7 separate regions of the Homo sapiens genome follow, and all the other regions are linked to region 6. The links are contacts of gene promoters, found by promoter capture Hi-C in human tissues and cell types (Jung and others, 2019). All regions are on one chromosome and are shown on one strand. Each heading gives the region's core, a stretch centred on a gene start or on the middle of the fragment in contact. The rest is flanking DNA. Distances are from core to core; before and after follow the strand shown.

Region 1 (3,579 bases), core at 108-2,607, 810 kb before region 6:
AAAAGTAAGGAGCTCCCAATGTACAAACCTGGAACAATTTGAGCAACAAAATAAATAATGACATTATTGGATTATACCCATAGAATATAACGAATGACCATGAGCTCATACCGATATAAATACATAACTAAACAGATAAGAAGTTGGGAGAGAAAAAAGATCCACTTTTTCGGGGGAAGAATTCCAATTAATATATAAAGAGGGAAAAAAGGAAATATAAAATCACCAGTATGCAAATACTACAGTAATAGCTGCTACAGGCAAAATCCTTTGATGGATGCTAATATCAGAGGTGAAAGGTTGAGGAGAAACAGGATATTAGCATAGACTTCAAATACTTTCCCTAAAAAACATATCACCAATAATGGGATAAAATACAGTAACTCTACAGTGAAAAATACCAGCAGACACTAGAAAATATCAGAAGAACCCAAATCGAGAAATATTCTACAAAAGTAACTGATCAGTGTTTATCAATAGTGTCAAGGTCATAAGAGATAAGGAAAGTGGAGAAAGTGTCACAGATTGGAGAAGACTAAGGAGACATGACATCTACAGGCACATGGAATCCTGGATTGGATTCTGACACATGAAAAAGATAGGGGATAAACTAGTGATATTAAAATGAGGTATGTAATTTAGTTAATAGTATTATATCAATTTCTTGGTCTTATTGTTGTAGTATGGTGTATTAGGAAGTTCTTACATTGCTATAAAGAAATACCATAATTCATAAAGAAATGAGGTTTAATCGGCTCACAGTTCTGCAGGGTGTACAGGAAGTATGGTGGCTTCTGCTTCTGGGGAGGCCTCAGGAAACTTACAATCATGGTGGAAGGCAAAGGGAAAGCAGGCATATTTTACATGGCTAGAGTAGGAGGAAGAGAGGGAAGGGGGAGGTGCCACATACTTTTAAACAACCAAATCTCAGGATAACTCACTCACTCATTCACTCACTATCATGACGACAGTAGCAACGGTGATGGTGTTAAACCATTCATGAGAAACTGTCAACATGATCCAATCATCTCCAACCAGGCCCCACCTTCAACACTGGGGATTATAATTGAACATGAGATTTGGGTGGGGACACAAATCCAAACCATATCATATGGTTACGTATGTATGTTGTTAACATTAGAATAAGGTGAGTGATAGGTATATGTAAATTTTGTACTACTTTTGCAACTTTTTTGTAAGTTGAAAATCATTTTGAAACAAATGCTAAAAAATAATTTGACTTTAGGAAGATCGAGAATAAAGAATAACAATTGGTAAAGCTACTTCTTTACCAAAGTCCCTGGGATATAAAGCTTATATGTCAAGTTTAATGCATATATACTAAACCCCTGGTAAGTAAGAATCTTCTAATTTGAAATTTTATTCATTCAGATAAAGGCTTGGCTAAAAGTTTCATTTTAAGTGATCGTCCAGAAAAGATTGTGTATGTTCAGGAGAATGTTAAGATTTCTAAATTAAACAGAGAAATGCTTTAAGCAAAAATGACATACTAATTAAAGCTCATTCTTATTTCTGGAAGCATAAAAAGATCACACGTGGTATTACCTGGCAGATAATAGGTAGCCAATAAAAAGTCAAGCTTAAATTTAAAAATAAGTCCCCTAATGCCTTCTAGAAGGCAATAATTTGATGTTTGTATCCTTGCTCTCTCAATTAGTACAGATTACTATGACTTCTCTGTGTAAATGGATACAGATTTATCAAGAAGGATCACAGACACTTCCATAAACTGCCATCATAGCTCTCAAGTGGCTATTCCTCTGCTGAATTAAGAGGTTTCAGATGGAATAATTTGACTTCCATCTTGTAACTGATTTGCAGAATGAGGCATATACTTTATCATTTTGCTTCCAAGCTATCAATGTCTGCATCTTATAAATGTCCGGATGTAACTCTAAATTAAACTTTTCTTACATTTTAAAGGTTGATTTAGCAGGTTTGTGATGTTCATACCTTCACTGGCAATTCACAAGCAATCTGATGTCTAGTGATCACAGATCAAAATGGATAGGAATCAATGCATGGCACAACAGAATTAAAATAATGTTTTTCAATTGTGAGGCACTTAGAAGAAATGGATTTTAATATCTATCAATTCCACATGTAAATCAAATGAATCCTGAAACTAGCTTCTCCAAATCGAATTCAAAGGAAATGTAGTAAGGACACGTAGTAACCATTCAACACAATTCATTGTTAAATTTTTTTAATATTGCATGGCCACTATTAAAGTATTTGAAATTTTGATCTCAAAACCCAAGACTCCTATGTGAGTTAGGAAAAATAAATATAAATCCTCTATGAAGAAACTGGAAGACTGAATGCAGCCTATAGGCTCAGCCTTTCATCTGGCCACATGCTGCAACCTGAAATCATCGTTCTCAGGCTTGACCTTTCCTCTCACTTTGTTCTGGCAGCTTTCCAAAGAGGGATAGGTGGTTTTAGGGCATTTTCTTGTGTTACAAATCAAATAATATTTCATGGCTTTCACCTTTAATGGGCTAAGCAGAAGGCATTCGACACAAGTCACTAGGGAGGCTTGGGGAAATTATTTATACTCTAGGGCATTCTTAAATCAGTAACTTGGCAATTTGGGATTCAAAAAACGTCACTGGTATCTCGAATGTTTCATTGCAGAAGCTGCATCATGTATATTTGTGTTGTTCCTTGGGGGACTTAATGTCCAGAAACCAATGAATAATTACCTTGGTCCTTACATATTGTGTTTTCGTTGGTGACAATCATGCCACAGGACATGCAATGAAGCAAGGGGCTGCTTTGTGATATTCTTGCCAGTGAAGGAAATGAATGCCTTTTGGGGAAGGTTTTTGTAAAATTAACAACTTTCATGCTTCAGCTTAAAATCTAGAACTTGGTAATGGCCAGAAGAACGTAATTCTAGATTTCGTGCAATGAGAATTGCAAAAAGTCATAACCAATAGAAAATCAATTTCCTCTTGAACTGACTGCAATTATGAAATGTCAATATGTATGATAAATATAATTATTAAAGGGTTTCTGAGTCTAAAAACATATTTTGGAGAGCGATTGAGGCATGGCCGTTAAATCATTATGTTAAGCATTCTCATATTTGCACTGTTAACATTCTAGCTGCATTTAATTAAAGAGGTTGGAGCATATAGACAAAGGCTCATTCTGAGAGTACACAGTGATTAGCAGGCTGTTGAATGTTTAATATTTAGGGGTAAAGGCAGTATGATTTCACAGGGAAGAAAAATGCAGGCCATCTGTATGGAGCCCAAGATGGGGAATTCCAGGTACAATCTGTCAGAGTTGATTACGTTGGCCACATCTGGGCTGTGAAAACCCTCCAATGGTTTGTGACATCCCAGCTTTTGTCCCAGGAACATAGAACACTACTATTTTCAGTATTCAATTGGATGTTTCCACTTTTGGTCCCACTGTTTCTCAAATCCAACAAGACCTAAAGAGATAGAAGAAATCCATATTTGCCATTCCCCGAACTAGCTTCCTGTTTGCTAACAGCACTGTCTTTCTCTCAGGCACTTATCTCAGTCATATCTGATGTATTTTTTG
Region 2 (3,562 bases), core at 203-2,702, 730 kb before region 6:
TAGGAAAAAGGTCACAGTACTAGCATGGGTAAAAACAAAGCATGTAAAACTTGGGAATATAAAAAGGCATTGTGAGCCTGGGCCACATGGTGAAACCTGTCTCTACAAAAAATAGCTAGTTGTGGTGGTGCACACTAATTTACTCTCAGCTACTCAAGAGGCTGAGTCAGGAGGATCGCTTGAGCCTGGAAGACAGAGGTTGCATGGAGCTAAGATTGTGCCACTACACTCCAGCCTGCATAACAGATGAGACCTTGTCAAAAATAAAAATAAATAAAAATAAAGGCACTGTGTATGCAGAAGAATATTTTTCAAAACTTTTATAATATATATACACTTTTGCTATGTTTTCAGATTATATAACCATACATAGCAAGTTGTAAATAGCAGATTATAAAACTATATGTGTTGAAAGAAGCCAGATAAAATAGGCCACATATTACATGATTCCATTTAGAAGAAAGATCTAGAATAGGTCATGCTTAGAGACAGAAAGCAGAATGGCGGTTTCCAGGAGGTAGGGGTGAGGGAGGACTAGGGAGTGACTTCTTGGGCAAAGAGCTTTCTTTTGGGATGATAAAAATGTTCTGGAATTAGACAATAGTGATGGTTGCTCAACATGATAAAGGCACCAGATGTCAGTGAATTGTACACTTTAAAACAGTGAATTTTATGTGATGTGTAATTTACTGCAATTAAAGATAACCATATATGCTATATCAGTCCATTTTTGAATAGAAGAAAAACAATATTATACAGGTGGAACTGATAATCAATACAGAATATGACTCAACCTAAAGTTTCACTGGAGTGCAAGGGGAAGATAACACTTAAGAGCTGGGCATTGAGAAGATGTTTTCCAGTTACTTTCCTTTTTGGTAATACATACGGTCTGGCCAAGGTGATACTTATGGTTCTATCTACCTCTAAAATTCTCTGACTTTATGATTTGAGTTTAGAATGTTGCATGACAATTCAAAAGAAATACTTATAAAATAAATTGATGTTTGATTTCAAATGTTGGAAGAAAAGTCAAATGAGTAAAAAGAAAGTTGCTAGAATGAACAAGATGTGGAGAAACAAATACAGAAAAATAAACTGTTCTACAAAAGGAGAAACAGGGCTTATTTATGGAGAGGCAATTCTACACAAAGAACCAGGACAATAATGAATAAAAATGAAATAAGTGGAGACCAAATATTCCACCAAAGATGGACTGAAAACCCCAGTCTGAAGGGGAAAGTAGGAGGCAACCATTCAGGATGATAAAGATGACAATATGAAGAGTCAAAAGGGGAACATACAAAGAAGGAGTTTAAATGCTCCATAAAACCTTAAAGTGAGAATGTTCAATAGAAGTAGAAAAACAATCACAGTGGTAGATGGGTTTTAGGGAGACCATGGAAGAAAAGAAAAGTGAAGACACCTCAGCAAAAGTTCTGAGAATCAAAAACCACGAGGGAAGGTGGCACAGACAGAGTGAAGGCAACAAAATGAATGGAAACTGTAGCAAAATGAATGATCTGACAGCATCTAAGCATGGGCAAGATGAGAAGGGGAGCAAGAAGCAGCTTAAGAAAAATATATGGAAAGTTTGAGAATTCTGTAGAAAGAAAAAAACTAAATAATAGAGGTGTTTTGAGCCAAACGGTTTCAAGGACTATATATATACGTGTATATATATACATATATACACGTATATATCACACATATATATATGTATATATATACATATATATACGTATATATATGTGTGATATATACGTATATATATGTGTGTGTGTGTATACCTATATCTCAATACACATATATACACACCCACATCTCACACACACACGTCACACGCACATACACACACACATATACACACATACAGGTGAATATATATACTCTCACACACATACTATATATACTATTTATACACACATACATATACATACATATATACAGACACATACATATATACAGACACATACATACATATATACATAAATGTATACATCACATATAAGTGTTTGAATGCAAGCTAATGCTGGAGTTCAAAAATAAAAGATAAATGATACAAGAAAGACATTCCTAATAACCTAGGGCATTATAATTCTTCTTGGCAACTATTTCCAGTATTATTGTTCCATGTTCATATAAGGAAATTAAAACTCAAGAAGTTATATACATTTTTCACAATTCTGGAATTCTACATATCAACTCAGGATTTTAATTTAGTTCTATTTAACAGTAATATTCATACAGTTCTTTCCCACGTAATATGTTCCCTAAAGATTCATTTTTGAGATTTTTGGTTAATTTTGATTATCATCTTGAAAATGGGTATAAAAGCCTAGTTTTAGATTTAATTTTCATTTTGTTACCTGATTTCAATAAGTTCTATCTTCTGGATCTGTTTGATTGCCAAATTTTCTTCTCTAACTTCCTTCCTCCAGATGTTTCCTGTGTTCCTAGAAGTTTAAATTATGAACACAGAACACACTGCCCTATAGAAAAATGTTGGTATGATAACTGAAATGGTACTATTAATTCTTTATTTAGTGCATATTCTAAGGTACCTACACTTTGTAGGCTGTGCTAAGAACAGAGCCATCAACTAGCATGTTGTTTGTATGAAAGAATGTATTTCTGAGCTCTAAGGCAATCGGCTCAGAAACAAACCTTTAAAACACAACCCATTTATTTTAGGTTGAAGAATGCCTATGAAACATGTCCACTGTTTCATCCTTTGCTTCTAATGATCTCCAGGAATCTTCCTGGATGTTATTTCTCTGGTGAAAGTTCTCTTATAAAAAAAATTCAAGATTTTGCTTATGTCTATTTTTGCTGCTGCTATCAGTTCCTATTAGAGAGATTATTACCTAACGTTAATCACCTGACTTCCTTCTTTTTGTCATAATTATTATAACCATTACTATACGGATGAAGAAACTGAGGCTGAGAGGGGTTGGGTAATTTATCCAAGGTGAAACTGCTTCTAAGGTGATAGAAATTAAAACTGAACCCTTCTCTGACTCCAAAGCCATTACTGGTTATCAGCAAAATAGAAACAGAAAAATAAATAAAATGTATAGGTCTGGATATTTTTTGTTTGTTTAAGCATTCATTCATTCATTCATTCATCATTTATTCATTCATTCAAGAACAAAAGACTTACTGGAGAAATGAAACAAAAAATGACTGGCATAGGATGAGGAAGATGGCAAAATTGAGTTAGGCCACAGACCTGCTCTAGAGGGCTCCAAAAGCTGAAGAGAATAACAGACCTAAAATCACATAATAATAATTAAGCTTGCTTGGTAAGTTGAACAGATTAAACTGATCTGGGCAAGGTGAGGAAGGCATCAAGCAGGAAGTAACATGACACCTTTTACTGGAGATGAAAAGAGTTTTCCAGGAAGATAAGAGGCTGTTTAGGAGTGGGGAGGCATGAAGGAACATAGACATCTTACTACCTAAATAATCTTCCTGAGAAATGTAAGTTACATTTAAAATTTTACTTGACTGTATCTTGTATGTAATACAAGACAAAATATTATTTGTGAAATTTTTTGTT
Region 3 (3,680 bases), core at 819-3,318, 890 kb before region 6:
TTGGAATTATAATTAAGCCCTGGGTTTCTCTGACCAAGCCACACTATGTGTCTGGTGCTAAAAGCAGAGTCAGTGAGGTGGAGTCCATAATGAGTGATTTTCCTGTGCATTATAAATCATTTAGGGGAAGAAAGCAGTCTTATTATTAGGCAGAATGCTTGTGCAGCTATGTTGGATACCAAGTAAGGAACAATGATTGTTATGGAATTAACAAGATATTAACGTCGCTGCTCCTTAGTGCACTGCAAGGGTAATTGAAATACTCCAATGCTCAAGTAATCTCATGGGCTTCAGAAACATAGTACTGTATTTGGGGGGGAAAAGAACCCCAAACTCTGTTATGTCTCATTTTCATTAAAATAATAATAATAATAAGAGATCAACTCATTATGACAGTGCCTTGAAGGTTGACAAAGAAGTTGATGTTAACATGCTCACCTAACCTGGGCAGCAGCTTGTTAGAACAACTGCTTTTGAAAACCATTACTCCTTTTAATTGCTGTCATCTTCACTCAAATATCCTTGAAGGCAGTGTCTAGGCAACTGTAGCCACAGAATCATCATCAGGGAAGATGGAAATAGGAAAGACCATGAGTTCATTCTCCATCGTAGAATACAAACGTAAGCGCTAATGTGAACACTTGCTTATTCAAGGCATACTTGTTTCAATGCTTAAAATGGAAAGTTATCTTCTGGGAAATGATCAATTATTGTAAGGAGGCAGGATAATATGACAGGAAAGAAACCAAGGGCTTTGGACAGCCATACATGGTCATATTTATTAACCATAAAAGCCTGCCCACCTTTTATGCATGTGAATTCTAAGCTCAATGTGTTCAGGGGCTCAGAATGAAATGTTAATATGTAAGGTCCCCTGTCCCCTTCCAACCCTTTGTGCACCTTTACATATGACAATTGGGACTTCTTTTAATTTTCTCTGGTTCTTTAGCTTTCTGAGTTTGGAGGCTGTATCTGTCTCGTTCACCACCGTAACACCAATATCAAGCGCAACTTCCAGAATGTAGTAGGCATTTCATTCATGTGCACTGATATGGTAAATGGGGGTGCTGTATAGATTAAAGGAGTTAAGATACATGAAGTTCCCAGCATCCAGGAACTATTTAGTTAACTATTTGTCTTCTCTCCCCAGTAAACACAATTTGTTAAAATGTCTAATTTATAACTAAATTACTAAATTATAACTAAATTACTAAAGCACTTAATGCTGATACTTATTATTTATAATTATCCTATATTTTCATATCAATCTCAGAAAATTAGGGGTTTCTAAACCTTGAGTCCTTACAATATTTCTATGAAATAGGTATGGGGCAATACAGGCCCCTCATTAAGAAATCTTGATACGTAAAATTAACTAATTCAGAGAGTGAAAAGAATCACCGTAGGACTTCTATAAATATTAAGCTATTTTTGTAAACTGAAAAAATATTCTTATTTACTATAATGTGATTTATAAATAGGACTACACAAACTGTATAAAGCTAAAATGTCTAATTTTTACAGTTTAAGAAAGTAGAAATGGTATAAATATCCTTCATCAAGCATCCACATAGAAATGTTCGTAGGTTTGTGTTGAGAACTTAGGAATTCCAGTTACTGGGCCAGGAATTTCTCCTTTAGAATACACAGGTTTCTATGAGCTACCAGTGTACACGTAAACAAAATCCTCACATCTCTTCTACCTGGATTACAGATCACCAAATTCTGGTCATGACTAGCTGGTTTGGGACCTGAGGAAGGGTCAATGAGTCTGTTCTCTGTGACTACGTAAAATGAAAGACTAGCCCAGAGGCAGAGAAATCAGGTTGAATGAAAGAAAAAGCAGTCCCTTTGTTTGAAGAGATTTATTTCCCCTTGCTTAAAAAATTCAGCTGGGACCATCTCCCTTGTAACAGTTGAACCTACATAATACTAAAGCTTTGACACCCCCCCACCAACCCCTTGCCTCTGACATAAACCTCATTACCAGTGCGTTTCAAATCTTTACAAAACCTTTAGGTGCAAAAAGGAGATAGCTAAATGGCCCCCTGGAGGACATTTGCAGCCACATGACTGTATTAAAATGTACAGGTCTATCTGCCTAAGTACTTGGAGAGGATGAAGTACATCCTTCAAAGTTATGATTTCATTCTATAAACCTATGGCCTGGTTTCCTTGGAGAGCACTTGTACACTTTCTATTTTCTCAGTTGAAATCAGATAAAATATTCCCAACACTGCCTTGAGTTTAAACTAGTTGGCTCTTATCACACATTTAACCATTTACTTATTGGAGACAATAGAGTTTAATGGTTGAGAATCAGACACACACTGATTCTCATGGCCGGTGGCCATGAACTAGCTTTTTGACTCTGAGTCAGCCATCTTACTTTTATGTCTCGTTTTCTAAACCTGCAAAATGGAAAAAAAAACAGTACTACCATTTAGAATTATTATGAAGATTACTTGAGACAATACATGGAAAGCATTAAGCTTGGCTTCTAACAAGACCTCAGTAACTATCATTTTTAATATTTTCTCTTCTGATTATTTTGGTTCTTGGTCTTATCTTTTTCACCTTGGTTGTGTAAAATTTGAAACCAGATAGGAATATGTAAGCTTCAATGGTAATATAGCTGGTTAGTCATTGTATGTCATAGCTTAAACTTCTATACGTACACCTGAGGAATAAATTTACTCCCAACCCCACCCACTATCCTAACCTATCCTACAAGATAAAATTCTGTATTTTTTAGACAGAACCAAACTTCCCAGCCTAATAGATCATGCCTAATGATTTAGGTTCAGTCTGCCTTTCCCACTTTCTAATGGTCATCTCTGCAGCTCAGCCAAGGAAAACTGTTTCCTGTTGAATATACCCCCGCCTGCTTCCTTACAATGAGCCTTTCTCCTACCAGTCTGACCAAATTAGATCTATTCTTCAAAGCCAAGGCCATATGATCCTTCCTCAAGCAAATCTTTCCCAATCTCTTTAAGACATCTTTTTGTCCTTGGAGTTTCCAAAGACAAGAAACATTCCATTTTTGAGAGAGAAGACTACACATGTAGATTTAATCCCAGAACCAAAATTTAGGTGTGTGCCATTTGGCTGGTCACTTTACCTTTCTTAGAATTTTTTTTTTAATTTAGAAAATGGGAATAAGAACACCATCTTGCTTTTTTTTTTTTTTTTTTTTTTTTTTTTGATAAAGCTAAGGTAAAAACCTTAGTTCTATGAATGGGTGAATGGGTAATAGTCACTGGGCTTTTTTTTTTTTTTTTTTTTAGACAGAGTCTTGTTCTGTCACTCAGGCTGGAGTGCAGTGGCGAGATCTCACTGCAACCTCTGTCTCCCAGGTTCAAGTGATTCTCGTGCCTCAGCCTTCCAAGTAGCTGGGACTACAGACATGTGCCACCACATCTGGCTACTTTTTGTATTTTTTAGTAGAGACAGGGTTTCACAATGTTGGCCAGGCTGGTCAAGAACTCCTGTCTTCAAGTGATCCTCTCACCTCAGGCTCCCAAAGTGCTGGGATTGCAGGCGTGAGATACTATGCCCGGCCTATAGTCACTGTTTAATAAAGGCCACCTAGCACGGTCTAAATACCTCACAAACAAGAAATCACTTCCTAGTTGGCTGGATTTGAATATTTTCCCTAACATCCTATGGCTCCTTCATTT
Region 4 (3,407 bases), core at 867-3,366, 660 kb after region 6:
CTGGAAGCGCCAAAGGAAAATTCCCCATGTTCTTGTCTTTTTAGCTTCTAGAGGCTGCCCCCATTCCTTGGCTGCTGGGCCCCTTCCTCTAGTATCTGAGAGTCCTGTATTTCACACATCTCATCAGTATGATACTGACTTTTTACTCTTTGACTTTTAATGCCCCTTTTGGTTACATTAAGCCCATTCGATTAATCCAGGATAATCTCCCATTCTAACATCAGTTGATTCACAGCATTCATGCCATTTTTAACCTTAATTCCACTTGATCATGTAACTGAACACATTCATGGTTTCTTGGATTAGAATATGGACATCTTTGGGGAGGAGGCATTATTCTGTTCACCACAGCCAGCAATCATATTATCAGCCTGTGAAATTTTGTGTCGAACTGGGTCATTACAGTATCAATTATGTGATAAAAGTGATAAATTCCCCTTTGCCTACAAATGCTGAAGAACAGGGTAAAGATGATGGGTTTTCTGTGCACAAGTTGAAGCAGACAATGCCAAAAGTATTTTATGTATCATCAAATCTTTGGGAAATTTTGGCCTCGGGAAATTTTTAGCACTGGGAACATGGCCTTTAAGGAAATAACTGTCCATTTTGTGTGAATACCTGATGTGGGTAAAGACTTCCTCATCCTTTCAAACAAGAAGCAGCCAAGTATCAAGTCTTTATCAACTTCTATGCCAGCTGTCTTTGTAGATGGCATCAAAGACTCCCTGAAAGTTTTGCTAATATACCAGACCTTAAAGGTCAATCATGAAGAATTTCAATGTGTCATCAAATATTTATTATAATCATCCTCTAGGTCAATAATAGCAAAAAAGCAAAAAACCTAAATTCAGAATTAAATAGAATAAGTTTGACAAATTTGGTAATCTCTTTAATATTATTATTTACATTTTTTGGCATTATGCTATTTAGCTCTTGTAGTTTGGCCTCTCTGATTGGGAATTGGAAGGTGGGATCAAAATGCATCAATACAACTGAAGAATAAATTCTTACATTCTGGGTGAGGACATAGAACACACTGGAGCATTGATGGATTTGTTATTTACCCTGTTACTGCAGAAGACCAAACCATAACACTAGAGCCAGATTATCATGAAAATCAAGAAAAAGCTAAAATGTGTTTGAGGACAACTGCATTTATTTGCTAATGGCTGGACTGACTTAAAATCCATTAGCCTCTTCAAGGGCCACGATCAATACTTTTGAAACTTTCAACTCCCTTGGGGCCCTGAAAGCCTGTGGGCTGTGATGTAATGAATTGACTGCATCAGCTTATTTTCCATATTCTTCTATTCAATCTCCTTGTCTTCATGTGATTCATTTAGCTTTAAAGATATTAAAATGTAATTTGAAATATTGGAAACAATATTCTCTTAAATCAAGTTCTGTATATCTCCAAACATTTTGATTTTTACTCATGAGAAGATGACAGGTGCTGATTTCTAAATTGATAGCTATTCAACAATTTCTGAGCATAGGATCATCTTCCTGCTGAACTGTTATTAAATTCTACCTGGAAAATCAGTATTTCAATAGTGTATAGGACCTTTAGGGGTCTGAGACATGCACCTTTCCATGGCCTCTAACAGATTATCAAGATTAAATGATAATATGTTCTAAAGTCAAGAAGACCTCTGATCCCATTAGTTGAGTTATAGTTATTTCCTCACCAGTTTGTATTTTATACTGTAATTATATAATTATTAAAATGACTGTTGACAAAAATAAATTTGACTTCATAAACAATACTGAATACATTGTAATATCTACTAAAGGTTGATCACTAAAAAGTTCACGTCAAATTAGGAAGGAGAGACACATTCTAAATAGAAGGGTAAAAATGTGGACTCATTTTGCTTTAAAAAATCTTTTTAAAAAAACTTGAAAGAAAAATGTATCATCTTTATATAAAACAAAAAATAAGGTGAAACTTCAATCAATAGGCCCCTTCTAAAAAACAAAAAGTCACTTGCTTTAGTTGTAAGTGTGGCAAATGAATGTAAATTTCTACATATTTAATTGAAATAAAATGTAGATACATATTTTTATGATTATTTTACAACTCTGTGCTCTAACCAAGTTTCTTCCTTAGTGGAAAAAACTTGTGGTCTTAGTTTGAGAGATAGGGCAACTTTACTGAAAGTTATTAACTCTTTATTTTAATTTTAATTGTAACTGCAAAGCACTAAGAACCCTTGCTCACAACACTTTGTAGCAGTGAAAAAAAGCTATATGTGAGACAACGTCATCCAAGGGGAGGAACTATGGCCTTGAAGTGAGGTTGGCAGGTTTTTATTTGCATGACTCTGGACGGAGATCTTAATCACTTAGATTCAGTTCCTTTATTTAAAAAGATAGAACTTATAAAACTAATCTTTAAGAAAAGAAATAAAAAAACCAAGGTGAAAGTGCCTGGAGCAGTATAATCACTCAATAAATGTTCGTTTCTTTTTCCTTCAGTGGAATAATATATAACCCATTTTGGAAAACTTATGTAAAAATGTGTTGATTTCTTCAAAATCTATTTTCCTTTAAAATATTTACGTATTCTTTAAAGCTTGCTATTTCAGACAAAATTATGCTTAATTGACAAATACTTTAGGTATTAGTGGACTCCAGAATGGCTTATGAGTCTTAAAAGGGAAATGAGTGCATTTTTACCTTCCAGAAGAGTCCTGTTTTCTTGCCTAAAAGTGAATACAAGAAGAGTAGAAGAGGTGTCACACCTTTTACATCTGGGTGTTTAATGCAGTTCTGCCTTTGATTTGCCAATTGTAAAGTTTATCTGATTATTTCCTAAAATTTTCTGATTAGGATAAAGAAAGAATAACATCTTTTATTTGGATTTAAACCAACTCGATCTGAAGTAAATTAGCCTCAAAATAATGGTGTTAGCTGGAGGCCATTATCCTAAGCAAATTAATGCAGGAACAGAAAAACAAATTCCACATGTTCTTACCTGCCGATGTGAGCTAAGCCTTAAGTACACATGACCATAAAGATGGGAACAATAGACAGTGGGGTCTGCTAGAGGGAGGAGAGAAGAAGGGGAAAAAGGACTGAAAAACTACCCATTGGGTACTCTGCTCACTACCTGGGTGACGGTAACATTTGTATCCCAAACTTCAATGTCCTACAATATACCCACGTAAAAAACCTGTATATGTATCCCCTGAATTTAAAATAAAAAATGAAATTATAAAATAATTAATTAAACACCAAAAAATAAAATGAAGCAGGAAAAATAGACACAAAAATAATAACAATGGGGCTAGCTATATTGCATTAAAACATCAACACAAAACACATGGACAACTCTCTTTAATACCTCAATCTTCATTAGGTTAGTGAATAAAGCAATAGAAAAACTCCAATTGTATAATTTCATT
Region 5 (3,296 bases), core at 185-2,684, 640 kb after region 6:
TCATGCATGCCCCTAGCTTTCTGTATTTCAGATTCCCCGCAGGGAAAGGCGTTGAGGTACTTTCACTACAGCAGGAAGTGGGCTATGTGCAGTTAAGACATCCCCTCATGTTGGCTGGGGAATAGATCCCTGGCCATGGGGGCCTGAAGTATTGCAAGGAGCTGGATCTTGTGCATTCTCTCTCTCTTCTTGCTATAAACACTGCATCACTACTGCCTAGTGTGCACGTTGTCTGTTCCCAACAACCTCTAATTATGCACTCATCTCTTCCCTGGGTGGCACTCATCAACCTTTTAACCTTGGCCACACAGCCCGAACAACAAGCAGTGAACTAGTTAATTTGGTTCTTAGTACATGTATATTTTGTAATACCAGTGATTATCATTTCGATTGACTTAAGTAAGTAGGATTATACTTTACACATGTGAAACAATGATGAATGTCATATTTCTCTAGCATACAAAATACTAACTCTGAATCCTATGTGGACTTCTCTCTAGTTTAACTAATTTTATACAAGTAAAATAACTTGATTGGGTCACCACAGACCTGATTACCTTATTTGTTGTGACAATGAAACTGTTTATGGAATTTGGCAAAGCAATATTTAGAAAAGTAACTATTTGGGTTGGAGAATAACACAATGCCATGATCATAAAATCTCATGAATTATTCTTCTGCTCACTAACAATTTTATGATGTTTAGGAAGAATAAAACATTTTTTATGATTTTAAAATAAAAGAAATCATGATTTGATCAGAAATGTTGGGCATAATGGGGCAGGATCCAATTTTGGGGAATAAAGCTGGGGAATAAAATGGACCTTTGTGAATTAGAGAATATTGTCTCTAGCCTCAGGGATGAAAAACAACAGTAGAAAATCGCAGCACTATGAGTAAATGCATGATGCTTCCTTGCTGCACTGAACTCATGACTCTCAAGGTTTCAACTCAATCTTCTCATTTGAAAGAACAGGAGAAAAGGAATATTCTCTAGTCCTCCTCCAAGTTTTGGTACAGCCGGTAGATGGAAATCTTTCTAGTGTTACTCAAGGCTGCAAACAGCTTCATGGGAACAGAACATCGTTAGTGCTAATTTACTAGGACCTACCATGAACGCATTTGGTAACCAAAGTCAAGAAACATTTACTTCACTGAGTTGAAGAATGGTTCCTCTAGTACAGATACAAAGAAACTGCCACATGTTTTTCTTCCCTTGAGACATAACTCTGGAAAGCACCCCCCTCAACTTTACCTGAAGCCTCTCATTACTTGCACATTTTCTCCCAATGTTAGTGAGAGATTTCTATACACCTTGGTTAGGATGAGACTTCTACATAAAATGACTTCTACATAAAATTAGAAATCCAAGCAAAAATTGCTTTACAGATCAAAGCAGTATTTTTATTTGCTGTATGACCCAGGATGCCAACTGTATGGAACTAATACCTCCTCTATCAGGGACCGGGACAATTTTCAGATAATTATAAAAAACATGCTATTGTAGATAGTGGTGCAATAAACATACTCTCTAAGTTGTCTTATGGAGTCCTACTACATAGTTCTATATTTCATATGACTTGTACTGCTGAATTAGAACAGACACATAGAAAGGACAGGGCCAGGGCACATGCCTAGAAAGAGACTAACAGTGTTATTATATGATGAGAAAACCTGCTGAACAACAAGCTCATAGCTATCTGGATAGGGAGAGCTATTCAAAAGGGCTTATCTAAAGCAGATCTTCACAAATGGAAAGTGCTCAATAAATAAACTCAACAAGGAAACAAAACAGTGGGTAGCAGTGTAGATGACTCAAGTGTCTGTTTCAGAGAGCAACACACGCAGTGTTAAGGCTGCAATAAACATGTGCATTTTCTTTATAGTAGAATGATTTAGAATCCTTTGGGTATCCCATCAATGATAGACTGGATAAAGGAAATGTGGTACATTTACACCATGGAATACTATGCAGCCATAAAAAAGAATGAGTTCATGTCCTTTGCAGAGACATGGATGAAGCTGGAAACCATCATCCTTAGTAAACTAACACAGGAACAAAAAACCAAACACCGCATGTTCTCATTCATAAGTGGGAGTTGAACAATGAGAACACATGCACACAGGGAGGGGAACATCACACACCAGGGCCTGTTGGGGGCTGGAGGGAAAGGGGAGGGAGAGCATTAGGACAAATACCTAATGCATGTGGGGCTTAAAACCCAGATGATGGGTTGATAGGTGCAGCAAACCACCATGGCACATGTATACCTATGTAAAAAACCTGCATGTTCAGCACATGTATCCCAGAACTTAAAGTAACAAAAAAAAGAATAGGCCTTTCAAAAAAAAAACCCCAAAAAACCTGATCTATACCCAGTAATTCCAACCAGCATATTACACCTAACCACAGAGAATATGTAACACCACTCTGGAGGGTGGAGACGGGGTTTGAGAGCATGGCTGCCTCCAGGAGTGAATGCCCAGGAAGCTGAGCATTTACAGGGATCAGAATTACTGGCTGGAATGGTGATGGAAAGGCTGTATCTATATTTTTATTTTTCTTTTGTTAGCAAATCATAGGCTCAATAATTTTAAACATTAAATTTTTATTGAGACTAGACGATATGCTCTTTTCCTTACATAGCCATTCTCTCAAATATTCTTCTGCAGGAGTACCATAAATAATGTACAATAAGATTTTTCCCTTTTTCTTTTTAATTCTGTTTTAACAAAATATTGCCTGTTAGACAATGGGGTGGTATAATAAAAACCATCCTCACTTTGGAGACAGACGATTAAGGTTCAAGTCCTGGCTATGACATTTACTTGTAAACCTTGAGAGAGTCACATAATTCCATGAATTTTCATTGCATATTAAAATGAAAGAATACTAATTCCCATGTACCTCCAGAGCTTTGTAAGGATAAATTAAAACATAATATGTGTTATCATTTATAATTTTGTAGATTTACAAATGTAAGTAGTTATTAACTTTCTTTATATTTTAGTTCTTTATATAGAATGCCAATTCATACTACTGAAGGAAAACAGGGAAAATAGAATTTTTCTTCCATTTTTTTAATACAAGATATGATGGTCAACATTTTACTTAGGAGTACAATAACAGTTATCTTCTCAAACCATATGTATTTACTAACTCTCAACTAGTTAGGAGATGCTGATGGAGATGTTTTTGATCGATGGTTCAAGAAGAAAATAGCTCATTAAGTAAAACTGTGTTCCTGTGTATGTAGTGTGTGTGCGTGTGTGTGTGTGCGCGTGTGTGTGTGTGT
Region 6 (3,612 bases), core at 794-3,293:
ACTGTGATGTTCTAAGATATCTGCAAAATGCTTTTCATCCATCCACCAGTTATTTGGCAAAAAGCAGACAGAGGCTGGTGGAAATTCAGCGTTTTGACTTGACGATCTGAGGTCACTAAGGACTTCAGCTGCCCGGTTTGAGCAGCCCGCGCCCTCGCAGCATCTCCTGGCCTCCCTCGGCCTCTCTCAGTTCTGTTCTTTAGCAGCCAAAGGATTATCTCTCCCCGACACGTTTCATTCACAGAGCCCCAGAGAAGCTCGGATTCGGTTGGAGCTAAGAGCCGGAAAACAAGCACCCAGACTGCCGCGCAAGTTGTCGGAGACCAAGTGCTACACACACTGGCGCCGAGAGAAAGGGTGGGCGCTCTCAAGCTCTTGGTGGAGCAATGCCAGTGGCCGGGCATGCGGGGGACACGGGGCCCCCGAACCCGGACCCGAATCCCCAGCTGAGCCACCCGCTAAAGTTGGCTGTTCGCTGGCAGACGAGGCCGGCTCCAGACCGGGTGGCAGGGTGTCCCCGGGCCCTGAGTGGCCAACAGCAACTGGGGAAGCACTGAGGAACCCTAACGGGAAAGCCCGCCCCACATCTGAAACAGGCAGCCCGTGAAGTCCCCAAACCAGCCTTGAAACGCCGGCGTCCAGAGGCCAGGTCCCCGGCGAGGGTCCCTCCCAGCCTTGCCCGCCCCCGGCCCGAGCGCCGGGCGCTCTGTCGCCCGAAGGACGGATAGGGGAGAGAGGGGCTGGGGGAGCCCTCCGCGTCTCTCCACCGCCCCTGCCGGCGCAAGGGCGGGAGTGGAGAAGGCGCCACTCAGACTGTGGCGCTGGGCAAACTGCGGTCGCAGTTCTTCCAAGTTTGCCCGAACCAGAACGCGGAGTGAGCGCCCGGCTCGGCTCTCCGTCTGCGCCTTGCAGCCGCCCCGGAGTGACCCGGGCTCCCTGGCCAGCCGGGCCTGAGCCATCAACTAAGGGGTAGAAGGGCGCGAGAGCAGCGGGAGGCGGGAGCCAGGGTGCTCCCGCGTGTGCACACAATGAGGCGGCGGAGACGCACACCTTCCCCCGCCGAAGAAGCCGCAGGAGCATCCGCCGCCCAACACGGAGACGCGGAGTCCCATAGCGGTGGCAGAAAGTGAGCACCAACTCAGCAACAGGGGGAAGGAAGGGGACGCCGGGCGGCCAGTGGGACGTGCGGCAGCCGAGGGCTGCAGCCTGCCCCTGCAGCGCGCCCGCGCTTACCTGCGATCTCCTGGTAGGGGATGTCCGCCAGGCTGAATCCCTTGGCACCGTACGCCTGGCGGACCTCTCCGCAGCTCCGAGCCTTCACATCCGCCCCGGCGGGGAGGGAGAGCAGCAGCCCCAAGAGGGGAAGAATCACAGCCCCGATCCAAGAAGGCATGGTGCAACATACAAATCCAGCTCGGTAAACCCCACGGCCGGTGCGCTCTTCACCTTGCCCCTCAAGCCGAAAGCCCGCCAGAGGCAGCGGCGCGCTCCTCGCCGCTGCCCAGCGTCACCCCCTTCTGCCAGCCGAGGGGACGAGCAGCGCAGCCCTCTGGACTGCGCTCAGCAAACTTTTATAAGCCAGATGGACGATGGCAAGCCAACAAGGGCTGGCTGGGAAGGCTGCTGCCTTGCTCCTCTAGCCCCCAGATGGAAACGGTGCAATCAAAACGAGGAAGAGAAGGAAAAGAAGTGTTTAAAAAACCACCATGGGGGTTCAGAGCTGCAATCCGAGTTCCGAGCCGCAGAATCCTGGAGCGCTGCGGGCTCGGCTCGCCGGAGTGTGCGGCAAAGGTGGGAGCGCGCGCCGGCTCCCCCGGGAGGGAGATGGACAAGCGAGAGCGAGTGTGTATGCGCGCGTGTGTCTGTTGGTGTGAGCTCGAGGTTCTTGGGGATGTGTGTGCGTGGAGGTATGTGTTGGGGATATACGAGATCTAGGGGAAACCTCAGCTTAACACAGGCTGTGGGAGCCTGTGAGAGTCCTCCTGAAATAGGAAGAGAGAAATCCTGGAGACAGTCACTGGAGGCAAGAGGGAAGGAGAAAGGAGGGGGGAGAAAGAAACGTGCTACACATTGCACAGCCGAAATTCACAGGCCGAGTCAAAGGCAAAACCTGGACTGGATCTCTTCCTAGTCGGTAGAAAGGGGAAAAAAAGAAAAAGAAACGTACCTATTTTCTTATTCACTTCACATCCTTTATACCGATCTGAAATGACATCAATAAACAATCTAGAAAGACAAGGTAATTTTAAGTCATTAACATGTTATTAAGCTGTATTTTTATGGAGGTAAAGGATAACGCAGTTCCAATTGTTGCTCTTAATATGTGTCCCTGACCTACTGAAACACAAAGCCAGAGTGGAAATAGTCATAGACGGGAGTTCATGGGTGGCAGAGCACAATCACGGCTCTAACTAGTTGCCTAATTTCTGTTTGACTTTGTTTTTTTCTAAAGGCACACATTACAGACTGGTAGTTCTTAATTTTTAAAGGTTTGGTTCTAGACTCAACAATTTCCCCTTTTTTTATTTCAAATATCTCATAGCCTTCGATCAGAAATCATTATGCTTAGGTTTCTAATGTGTGGAGGATCGGGAAAGCTAACAACCAGACCACAGAAGCAACAAGAAAAGGAGAGCACAAGGGTCAGAGGTGCATAAAGGGACATAATGGGGGAAGGGAGGTGATTCCTTCCCTCTCACTAGATGCCCTCACATAGTAGACTTAACATTTTCTTCCAAGTTAACATAATTCTCAAGTGGAGAATCAATCCAATTTCTTCTTCCTGTCTCCATTTACACTGATGTTCTGTGAACGGGATAAAAGTGAAAATTCAGGTTTGCCTAATTGACTTTGTTATGCTAATGGACGCACTAAAGTCAGCTGGCAGAAGTGTGTGTTGAAACCCAGAGCTCCTGAAACTACTAAGATAGTTTAATGAAAACCAAGACAAAATAATAATAATAATAGTGTTTATTCACTTACGTGGCTATGTGTCATAGGTCAGCACATTATTCACAAACTACTACAAGGTAATGCACAGTTTTGTGGAGCTCACCTATGAAGCTACACATGAAGATGTTTTCCTGATGATGATATGAATGACCAGAATGACTCATGAAGTTTAAATCTTTGAGTTTGTCATTATCATCACAACATATTAGGTACATTGTCTTCCTCTCTTTAATAAATTCCCCCTCTCCTAACCACCAAAAAGACTCTCAAGATTCAACCTCATTTAACCTTTCCAAACGCTTTAAAAATGAAGTCGACTTATTTACAGAGCCACTTTGTCTTCTTCAAACTCATAGGTCAAGACAAAACAAAACCAAAAAAAAAAAAAACAAAACAAAACAAAAAAAAAAACTCCATAGCTAAATCTTTCTGAAAACGCAACACACTTAACTTTTTTTCTCTTAAAATTTTAGCACAGTTTTTTGCTTTCACAATATTTATGCTAACTGGCAGATCTTAAATCACTGAACTTATTTTCCCTCAAGTCGGAAATCAAGATAAAATATATTCTGGTTATGTTTGTGGACAAACGGTGAGGTTGATAGGCTCAGGAATTGCAGTCAAGTTATTACTTCTGTCATATTTGACAACGTGACTTCC
Region 7 (3,411 bases), core at 635-3,134, 640 kb before region 6:
TCCTTCTTAGCTATGACAGCCTCATGGGGTGGCAGATGGACCATGCCAGATAGAAGTCTACCACTACTGACAAAACTGGACAGGTTAGTTGAACTGCAAACACATGCCACATCTCTGTGCTCTATCTAAGCTCCAACTGAGGGAAATCATTTTCTCAAAGGTCATCAATGTTCTATACTGATTTGAACCTGTTTTTCCCTTTTGAAGTTAAACTGGAGAATCAGACCATCGACTGGCAATGTGTAGGGATGTGTGAAACATTTTCCAACCGTGGGCTGTAAAAAGAAAGGGACTTGAAGCAGATGGTGTGCAGTATTAAAGGGCTAATCACTTTCAATGTATTTTGCTACATTACTTAGTAGCACGGGTATATTAAAAGGAGCTGAATTGTTAAAGGTCTTGTACCCCAACCAAAAATTAAGTTTTAAAATGGTGCAGGAAGACTGCCTTACTCAATTGAGCACTACATAAAGAATAGAAGCAGTTCCGAACTTCTCTCCTCCTACTTGCAGCCAACAGTATTTGTGGGTTGTGGAAAAGGGAAAGGGAATAGAGAGAAATATTTGCATTTAATGTTGTTGTTGGCCAGAGGAGATATCACTTAGATATACTCGAAAGAGGGTTCAGTCAGGTTAAAATCTGACATCAATCCATTTTCTTTGTCTTGGATTATGTTTGGTTTGGTGTGTCTGCTCGTCTCTCAAATAATATTAATAGTATGAAAAGTGCCCTTCAGCAACAACTTGGTGAGACAAATACTTCTATGTAGTACCAGATATTTGCCTAGGGATTTCTTTGTCCTTTTGGCAGTGAAAGAGAGGGAAAGAGAGACCTTTACATAAATCCTGTATCCCAGTTAACTCCTTCCTTTTCTCCATAAATATCCAAAGTTAAAATATCACTCGTGAGGAGAGGAACATGCTATCAAAAATTTCTGTGTGAAATTGTACACTTAAGTTAAGCAATGCTGTAAGCAAAATTATTAACTTATTATTTTATAATTTTATTCTGTATCTATCATTACAATCATTAATTGAATTATTATTAACTTAATAAAAGAAGCATAAGGAGATATAACTATATAGACAGAAATGTTAACACTTATAATATAGGCTATTAGGATTGAGGGTCTTATCCTAAATATTCAAGTGTGCAGACAACCTAGCTAACATTACTGAAAAAGCATGAGATGAGGTTTGGCAGAGAACAAAAGCTAGTAAATGAAGTCCATGTTTATGAATATGACAAGCGGGCACCATGGGAAGAAGCATTGTGGTCTAACCCAAAAATATTATGCATCAAACTTTTAGCATGTGTGAAGTCTCCCTCAAGTGTGGAAACATTCTTCACTTGATCCTACTCTGCAGAAAATCCATGGAAGGTTTACCAAGGCATTCTCCCGAGTAACCTCAGGGACTTCACTCTGGTTTTCATGTTTCTAATGTGAAGAGGAGAGATGTAAAAATATGTTACCTCGTCTCTGTGTAACTCCTGCTGCCCTTGTGTAATTCTTCAGGTCCATACAGGCTTTGGACCTGGGTCCCACAACAAGACATGGATTCTCTTGCAGCTCATTCTGAAGAAAAGCGTGAGACTGAAAGAAATGTTGATGATTTAAGCTTCAAGAATGAAGTTCCTGCACTGATGGTGAGTGTACACTAAAAGTTGTGGTGCTAGGTACCAGGAATAGAGAGATGAAAAGGACTCAGAGTTAATCATCTTGAAAAGCTCACAGTGGAGCAGGAGAAGCAAATAGGTTACCAGTGATGTCAGCGGTCAAGGCTGTAATAGATGGAGTGTTGATTCCATCCATTTGGGGCATGTTGACAAGGGTTTCCGAGAAGAGTTTATACAAATGGAATGACTAGCCTTTCTTGAGAGCTTATTACAGGACACACATGGTTCTGAGGGCTTTATAATCATTCTAATTTACTCTTTTCAATGAATTATGCAGAAGGCTTTATTAATAACCCTATTTTAGAGATAAGGAAAGTAAGGTTTGAAGATGTTCAGTAGCTTGTCCAACATCCCATAGCTAAAGAATGGCAAAGTCCAACGTCCAACTCCAGTCTGCAGACTTCTCAGTTCACACACAGGCTGTCATGCCCTACCTCAATGTTAGAGAGACGTCAAAGGAACAAACAGAGTTTATTAAACCAACTGTAAAATGTTCCAAGTTTTCTACAAAGAGTTTTCTAGAACAAACTGTAACACATAACACTGTTGTCCAAAGACATTTCACCATAATATAAGCAACCTTGTTTCATGAATTGGGGATATCCTGGAACTATTCCATGTAAATGAAATTTTTGGAAATAGCCTCACTTAAAAAAAAATCAACATACTGAGATATACATTTCAGTCATCTCCTACCCCAACCACTAACCCTGGACAAGCACTGAGGTGTTTTCTGCTAGGCTAAACTTTGGTTTTGCATTTCAAGTAAAGGAATAAGACAGAAGATGTTCCTTTGTTTCTGAACTTTAATTTTTGCTAAAAATTATTTACATTATATATTTTTAGAAATGTTTATTTTTTGACTAACAATTTTTAGAAAAACTTTTAGGTTCAGGGGTACATGTGCAGGTTTGTTACATAGTAAACATACGTAATGGGGGTTTGTGATACAGATTATTGCATCACCCAGGTATTTAGCCTGGTACCCATTAATTATTTTTCCTGATTTTCTCCCTACTCCCACTCTTCACACTCCAAAAGTCCCCATTGTGTGTTGTTCCCTTCTGTGTGTCCATGTGTTCTCATCATTTAGCTTCCACTTATAAGTGAGAACATGCACTATTTGGTTTTCTGTTCCTGTGTTAGTTTGCTAAAGACAATGGCCTCCAGCTCCATCCATGTCCCTGCAAATGAAATGATCTTGTTCTTTTTTATGGCTGCACAGTATTCCATGGTATATATGTACCATGTTTTCTTTTTTCAGTCTATCACTGATGGGAATTTAGGTTGATTCCATGTCTTTGCTATTGCGAACGGCGTTGTGGTGAACATACGCCCATTACTGGGTATATACTAAAAGGAATATAAAACATTCTATTATAAAGATACATGTTTCTGGACCCTACAGCTCTGTATATCTCTGAGATTCATCCATGTCAATTCATGAATCGGTTTTGTGTTCCTTTTTCCTGTTCAGTAGTATTCCTTTGTATGGCTACACTACAATTGTTTACACAGTCTCCTACTGAGGGATAGTTGGGTTGTCTCTAGTTGTTGGCTGTAAATAACATTACTTTCAAAAAGGCATATAGGCACTTGCTTTTCAGAAGAATGCTACAGTGAATCATCCCACCACTTACCTGCTTTTCAAAACTTGCAGAGTCCACCACTCTTTGGTTTTGGACACATCAGGCCATTGATTCTGGCTTCAAGGACTCCGCCTCTGCTCATCGG

What was found. The method cuts DNA at HindIII sites, captures the fragments that hold promoters and counts their contacts. A contact is called where the count stands out against the background at its distance.
Region 1: a fragment that was not itself captured here is called in contact with the fragment with the promoter of GPC6 in region 6 in 2 of the 25 tissues and cell types used here (IMR-90 fibroblasts and dorsolateral prefrontal cortex).
Region 2: a fragment that was not itself captured here is called in contact with the fragment with the promoter of GPC6 in region 6 in 1 of the 25 tissues and cell types used here (liver).
Region 3: a fragment that was not itself captured here is called in contact with the fragment with the promoter of GPC6 in region 6 in 1 of the 25 tissues and cell types used here (mesenchymal stem cells).
Region 4: a fragment that was not itself captured here is called in contact with the fragment with the promoter of GPC6 in region 6 in 1 of the 25 tissues and cell types used here (dorsolateral prefrontal cortex).
Region 5: a fragment that was not itself captured here is called in contact with the fragment with the promoter of GPC6 in region 6 in 2 of the 25 tissues and cell types used here (hippocampus and mesenchymal stem cells).
Region 7: a contact is called between a fragment that was not itself captured here and the fragment with the promoter of GPC6 in region 6, in 1 of the 25 tissues and cell types used here (mesenchymal stem cells).

The regions. Positions count from the first base shown.
Region 1 is chr13:94,039,476-94,043,054 of GRCh38, reverse strand. All of the region lies in intron 4 of GPC6 (glypican 6), which reads right to left. Among named protein-coding and RNA genes, the nearest start is that of GPC6-AS1, 150 kb to the left of the region's middle. The HindIII fragment of the contact is 5,247 bases long and covers 1-3,579 here.
Region 2 is chr13:93,951,033-93,954,594 of GRCh38, reverse strand. The region is part of intron 3 of GPC6 (glypican 6); the gene reads right to left. Among named protein-coding and RNA genes, the nearest start is that of GPC6-AS2, 94 kb to the right of the region's middle. The HindIII fragment of the contact is 8,481 bases long and covers 1-3,562 here.
Region 3 is chr13:94,113,621-94,117,300 of GRCh38, reverse strand. All of the region lies in intron 4 of GPC6 (glypican 6), which reads right to left. Among named protein-coding and RNA genes, the nearest start is that of GPC6-AS1, 73 kb to the left of the region's middle. The HindIII fragment of the contact is 4,299 bases long and covers 1-3,680 here.
Region 4 is chr13:92,564,330-92,567,736 of GRCh38, reverse strand. The region is part of intron 7 of GPC5 (glypican 5); the gene reads right to left. Among named protein-coding and RNA genes, the nearest start is that of MIR548AS, 76 kb to the right of the region's middle. The HindIII fragment of the contact is 6,248 bases long and covers 1-3,407 here.
Region 5 is chr13:92,586,950-92,590,245 of GRCh38, reverse strand. The region is part of intron 7 of GPC5 (glypican 5); the gene reads right to left. Among named protein-coding and RNA genes, the nearest start is that of MIR548AS, 98 kb to the right of the region's middle. The HindIII fragment of the contact is 4,822 bases long and covers 1-3,296 here.
Region 6 is chr13:93,225,238-93,228,849 of GRCh38, reverse strand. It overlaps GPC6 (glypican 6), which reads right to left and starts at 2,043. Exons shown (of 9, transcript NM_005708.5): 1 at 1,234-2,043. The coding sequence starts at 1,393. RefSeq lists a silencer at 260-554 and an enhancer at 608-1,450. The HindIII fragment of the contact is 15,285 bases long and covers 1-3,612 here.
Region 7 is chr13:93,866,019-93,869,429 of GRCh38, reverse strand. All of the region lies in intron 3 of GPC6 (glypican 6), which reads right to left. Among named protein-coding and RNA genes, the nearest start is that of GPC6-AS2, 9.3 kb to the right of the region's middle. The HindIII fragment of the contact is 5,943 bases long and covers 1-3,411 here.